Linked DNA regions of Homo sapiens: region 2 is linked to region 1. Evidence: promoter capture Hi-C in human tissues and cell types (Jung and others, 2019). All regions are on one chromosome and are shown on one strand. Each heading gives the region's core, a stretch centred on a gene start or on the middle of the fragment in contact. The rest is flanking DNA. Distances are from core to core; before and after follow the strand shown.

What was found. Contacts are between HindIII fragments. The study calls those that stand out against the background at their distance.
Region 2: the fragment with the promoter of SHC2 here is called in contact with the fragment with the promoter of MIER2 in region 1 in 4 of the 25 tissues and cell types used here (dorsolateral prefrontal cortex, lymphoblastoid cells, mesendoderm cells and 1 more).

The regions. Positions count from the first base shown.
Region 1 is chr19:343,492-346,160 of GRCh38, reverse strand. MIER2 (MIER family member 2) reads left to right here and starts at 1,365. Exons shown (of 14, transcript NM_017550.3): 1 at 1,365-1,387. The coding sequence starts at 1,379. RefSeq lists silencers at 1,021-1,470, 1,541-1,590, 1,891-2,000 and an enhancer at 2,309-2,669. The HindIII fragment of the contact is 27,379 bases long and covers 1-2,669 here.
Region 2 is chr19:459,692-462,360 of GRCh38, reverse strand. It overlaps SHC2 (SHC adaptor protein 2), which reads left to right and starts at 1,328. Exons shown (of 13, transcript NM_012435.3): 1 at 1,328-1,832. The coding sequence starts at 1,365. The HindIII fragment of the contact is 8,702 bases long and covers 251-2,669 here.

The DNA.
Region 1 (2,669 bases), core at 116-2,615:
TAGTTCACTGAATGACTGAATGAATAATAACAAATGAATAATAAAGGAAGGAACCAACTCTTGCACAAATCAGTGAGGACTCTTCAACACGAGGGCCAGAACCCTCAATCTCAATGATGTAAACCAAAAAAGGAGTGAGGGTAGACCCCTCCAGAGTGGTTCTTCTATCTCTTGGTTGGTGAATTCTCAGAGGACTGAGTAATGATTTTGCATCAGGAATCAAGGCTGATGCATGTCAAGTTCTCACTATTCATTGGCTGATCACTGGGAAACAGGAATGAGACTCATTCTCTTCTTCCTGGTCCCCAATTCCCTTCCTCCTGGTCCCCAATTCCCTTCTTCCTGGTCTCCAGTTCTCTTCTTCCTGGTCTCAGTAGGAACCGCCCTCCACTCATTTGCGCAAGCCAGACATCTGGAGGCCATCCTTCACTCTCTCCAGCTTCCCTCCATCAGCGAGTCTTGTGGTGTCCACCTTCTCAAGTCTCTCTGCACTCTGGTCCAGGCCCCACAGCTCCCACCTGGCCCCTGCCTCTTCACGCCCCACCCCTGCTTCCTATCCTCTCTCTGCATCGTGCGCCCCGAAGATTCACGGCACTTATCCGTCTCAAATTTAAGGTGTGGCGAGTCCTTGCCTTCCCATCCTCCACTCTAAACGCCCTGAAGACAGGCGTTAGGGCTGTCTCCTTCAAACCCTCAGGATCAGAACGTGCACGTGTTCCAGAAATGTTCAATCTGCGAAACGACGGACTGCAGAACCAAATGGCCCTGGGGTCAAGCCCACCTCCCTGCCTCCCGCCTTGGGCTCTCCGGCGCGGGGCCACCGTTTCTAAAACCTCTCCGACTGGTGCGCGTTCGCAAGCTCCCCGATTGGTTCCTCCGCGCGCTAGTTTGCTCATCACGGGTGCGAAAGTGCAGAAAATTCCAGAACCACGCAGCCCGGACACCAATTCTGGCTCTATCACTGACACTCTGGGTGGCCCGTCGCCCTGGGCCTCAGTTTCCTAGTCTGCCACGCGGGGTATTAACAGCGAGCAGCCGAGGGAATGAAGAGGTCACACAGGACCACGTGGTCCCCACGCAGGTGTGATTATCAGGAATTCGTATTTTTATGGAATGCAGTCTCCTCCGCCAAGGCCAAGGCCAAGATCAGGGTCCAGCAGAGACGGCCGGAAAGACACCGCAAGCTCGCCAGAAGCCGCCGGCCACGCTCGGCTGCGCGCCCGCGCCCGCGCCCGCGCACCTACTACGCGCCCGGCCCGCTCTCCGCCCCCTCCAGGCTCCGCCCCCTGCCCCGCCCTCCAGGCTCCACAGCCAATGAGTGCGCGGCCCCTCATCCGGGGATCCCGGCGCGGCCACCGCCTCCCGCGCACACACGGCCATGGCGGAGGTGAGTGAGCGGGCCGGGGGAGCCGGCCCCCCGCCCCCGCGCGTCCGCGCCCCCCGCCGCCGTGGCTCGGCCTCGTCGTGGGCCCCAGGGACGGAGAGCCCCGCTCTGGAGCTCTGAGGCCGGCCGGGGCGCCTGGCCCGTCCGGGGCCGGAGGGGCGCGGGGCTCCATCGGCGGCCGCCCCCGGCCGGCCCCCACCCCCCAACTCCCCCGGCTGCCACATCGCGGGCTGCAGTGCGCATGCGCGGCGGCGCGGGGCGGGCGGGGGCCGGGGTGGGGGAGGGGAGGGACGCGGGGCGGGGCTGGTGTCGGGGGTCCGGTGGGCGCGCGGCTCCGTTCCAGGGTCCGGCTCCGGTTCCCGGCCCCGGCCCGGGCCCCGCGGCGCGCAGGCCTCCCCTCCCGCGCCTTTGCCAACTTTGCCGAGTGCTGGGGCCGCCAGGCGCCCCGCGCTCCCCATCGGGATCCCGGTGGACCCACCGCGCCTCCGCCGCCCGCGAGCCCCCCGGCGGGGCTGGGTCAGACCCCGGGCGGGATTTGAACTCCCGACGCGGACCCGCCTGGCGCGAACTGGGCGCAGGGTGGGTGGGTCTGCCGGGGCCTAGAGAGCGTCGGGGCTGATCTCAGAAGAGTTGGACCAGCCTCTCCCGGGCACGAAGTTACTTCTGGAGCCTCCTCCCTCGTCCAGGAAACAAGCCCGGGACCCTTTATCTGAAATGTTTGGGACCAGCTATATTTTGGAATCCAGAATTTTTCCAATTTGAGGATCTGTGGGATTTTGGACTGTGATGTTTGATCAAACCCACCTAGGACTGTCTAGGATAAGACAACAGATAGCTTCGTGTCAGGTCAAACCAGGAAGGAAGAAACTTTCGCTTTTGAAGCTTTTTTTGATTTTGGAGTGGTGGATGAGCCTGTGTGGACTTGCTTTCACCTTGGAGGGCCCTGGTGAAGATGGAAAGAGATAATGTAGGTGAAGGTGCGGCGGCTGCGAGGTGCTCAGTCAGTGGGACTCAGTGCATGACTTCTGTGCGCAGAAGTTACGACAGGCGGGCAGACTCAAGAGCTGATCCTATCTCTGGGATAGAGCCCAAAGGAAAAGGTGCCCACCCAGCCAGGCACAGCCGCCTCGTGGGAAGCCGGGATTGGAACTGCGGCCTGGCCGTGGTGCCACGTTGCGTGTTTATGTCTTGGGCGTTGTGGGAGGCAGGACTGGCCATTCTCTCCCCCTGGTGACGACCTCAGGGGCAGTAACAGGCCCTGTGTTTATGCCAAAGACGGTGTAGG
Region 2 (2,669 bases), core at 79-2,578, 120 kb before region 1:
CCACAGCCCTCAGCCTAGGGCCGCCAAACCTGTCCCACCCTTTACCCATTAGGTGAACACACCCCAGGACCCAGCAGCCTGGATCCCCTGCATATGCCTGGACACGCACCCAGACACAGCGTACACCCTGCGCACAACACACACACCGCGCGCAGGTCCAGCCGCGGCTCCAGCCCGACCAATCGCGCCCACGATCTGCTCCTCCCGCGGACGCGCAGGGGCTGAGTCCGACACGCGCCGCGGCAGAGACGGCCGATCGCGACCGCGCGCCTCGCTCCCCTCCCCCACCTCCCCGGCCCCGCGGGCGGCGCCGGCTGTGATCTCATCCCCTGAATTATCGATCGGGCTCCGGGCAGCCTCGCCCCTCCCTCCCTCCCCACCTGCCAGCGCGTCCCGGCCCCTCCCTTTGTTCCCGGCAATCAGCCCTGCTTGGGGCGGGGCAGGTGCAGGGGAGCTCCAGCCAAGTCGGGCCAGGAGGCTGGGTCCCGGGGTGACAGTGACACCCCGTTTTCTGGTGCAGAAGGAACCGACCCTTGAGGCCAGGGAAGGTGCGGCCGGTCTCGGAGAGGTTGAGGCTGGGGATGGAGCGACCGGCCTGGGAGGCTGAGGCCCAGAGCTCAGATGAGCTGGTGCGGGACTGGGCTCCCCAGAAGTGAGGGAAGAAGGGCCGCGACCCTCCAGCCCGCTCCCCTGAGTTACAGCCGGAGAAACTGAGGCCGGGACAGGCCGCAGAGCAGGGGCCCGGCTCCGCTCCTAGCCCCGCCCCCCCCCCCCACCCCCGAGCCGGCACTCCTGGGTTTGAGCTTCGTCTGTGAGCCCTCGGCCGCGCCCCTTCCCCTCCCCGCGCCTCAGTTTCCCCACTAAGAAATAGGGGTGACCCTAAGGTACCTTCTAGCTGCAACAACGGAGAGGGAGGGGCTGACCTTAGGGTCTGGGGTTCTCTTTTCCCTGGCCGCGCCTCCCGGGGCCTCAGTTTCCCCACTAGGAAATAGGGGAAAGAAGGGATGTGGAATTTCTAAGCTTCTCCAGCTCGGTCCTTCTGCGAACTTGGGCGGCGGGCGGGGGTGGGGGGCGCAGCGGGGAGGGTCGCTGACGGGGTTCTGGGTTCAAAGCCCCGTCCCGCCTTGGCTGCGGGTTCCAGGCCAGCGCCCGGTGTCCTCGGAGGGCCTCAGTTTCCCCAGCCTCGCGGCCAGGCTCCGGGACGAGGAGGGCCGGGGTCCCAGGGGCGCAGCCCCCCGCGGCTGCGCGCTGGGCCGGGCGGATGACATCACCGGGCCGGGGGGCGGGAGGGAGCGGGCGGAGCGGGAGGGCTTCCTCCGCGCCAGGCGCAGCGCCCGGTCGGGCTCCGTCGGGCGGCCGCGGCCATGACGCAGGGTCCGGGCGGGCGCGCGCCCCCGGCGCCCCCCGCGCCCCCCGAGCCCGAGGCGCCCACCACCTTCTGCGCGTTGCTGCCCCGAATGCCGCAGTGGAAGTTCGCGGCCCCGGGCGGCTTCCTGGGCCGCGGCCCGGCGGCGGCGCGGGCGGCTGGGGCCTCGGGGGGCGCGGACCCCCAACCCGAGCCGGCGGGCCCGGGGGGCGTCCCGGCGCTGGCGGCCGCCGTCCTGGGCGCCTGCGAGCCCCGCTGCGCCGCGCCCTGTCCCCTGCCCGCGCTCAGCCGCTGTCGGGGCGCGGGGTCGCGGGGGTCGCGGGGCGGGCGGGGGGCGGCGGGGTCCGGGGACGCCGCCGCCGCCGCCGAGTGGATCCGGAAGGGCAGCTTCATCCACAAACCCGCGCACGGCTGGCTACACCCCGACGCCAGGGTCCTGGGGCCCGGGGTCTCCTACGTCGTGCGGGTGAGTCCCCCCCACCCCCCCCGGGAGCCCGTTCGCGGCGGCCTCCCCTCCCCCACCCTCTCCTCCGGGACCCCCGGACCCCGCGAGCCAGGTGTCCCCTCCCCATCCTTCCTGCTCTCCCGCCACCCCGGACCCCCATCCCCGGCCGGCGGCCGGCGGCTGCCCCCACCCGGAGGCGCTGGGGTCCGGGTTCCCACGGCGTCACGTGGGGAGGGGCGGGGAGAGGGCGGCGGGGGAGGGGCGCGCATGCGCAGGTGCACCGCCCCCCACTCGGACTGGGCGGGCGAGGCCGAGAGCGGCGAGCGGCCGGGGCGTCTCTGCCACCGGAGCCCCCCGGACAGCTGTTCACGAATGACAGACGGGGCCCGAGACGCTGGCCTGCGGTGGGGGTGCGGGAAGGGGTGTTTGGAAAGGGGCTGGCGCCCGGACAGACCCCAGGATTCCAGATGGGAGGCAGCAGGGACTTCCAGGGCGGCCAAGGAAGCGGCCTTTGTTTATTTACCTTGGGTCTTATGATAAATGAACCTTTTCAAACACACGGGGAAGTCGGGCGCCTGGACACAGCACGCCTCCACCTAGGAGGGTAACCTTCCCCTCTGCTGACGGGTCTGCCCCTCTCTGTGGTTTATAGTAAACCGTGTGAAGTCACCTGCAGGGGTGACAGCGCCGTGCATAGTCCCCCGTCTTCTGAGAGAGCAGCTGTCCTACAGCTGCAGTCATTACGGCGTCTGGGAAAATGATCAGCCACTCCCGCACGCCACTACCGGTGGGTGCTCCCAGCTCCTCCCGGCCTCTGCGGCCAGGAACATTAGCCTGTGTTCACATTGGGTTGTGTCT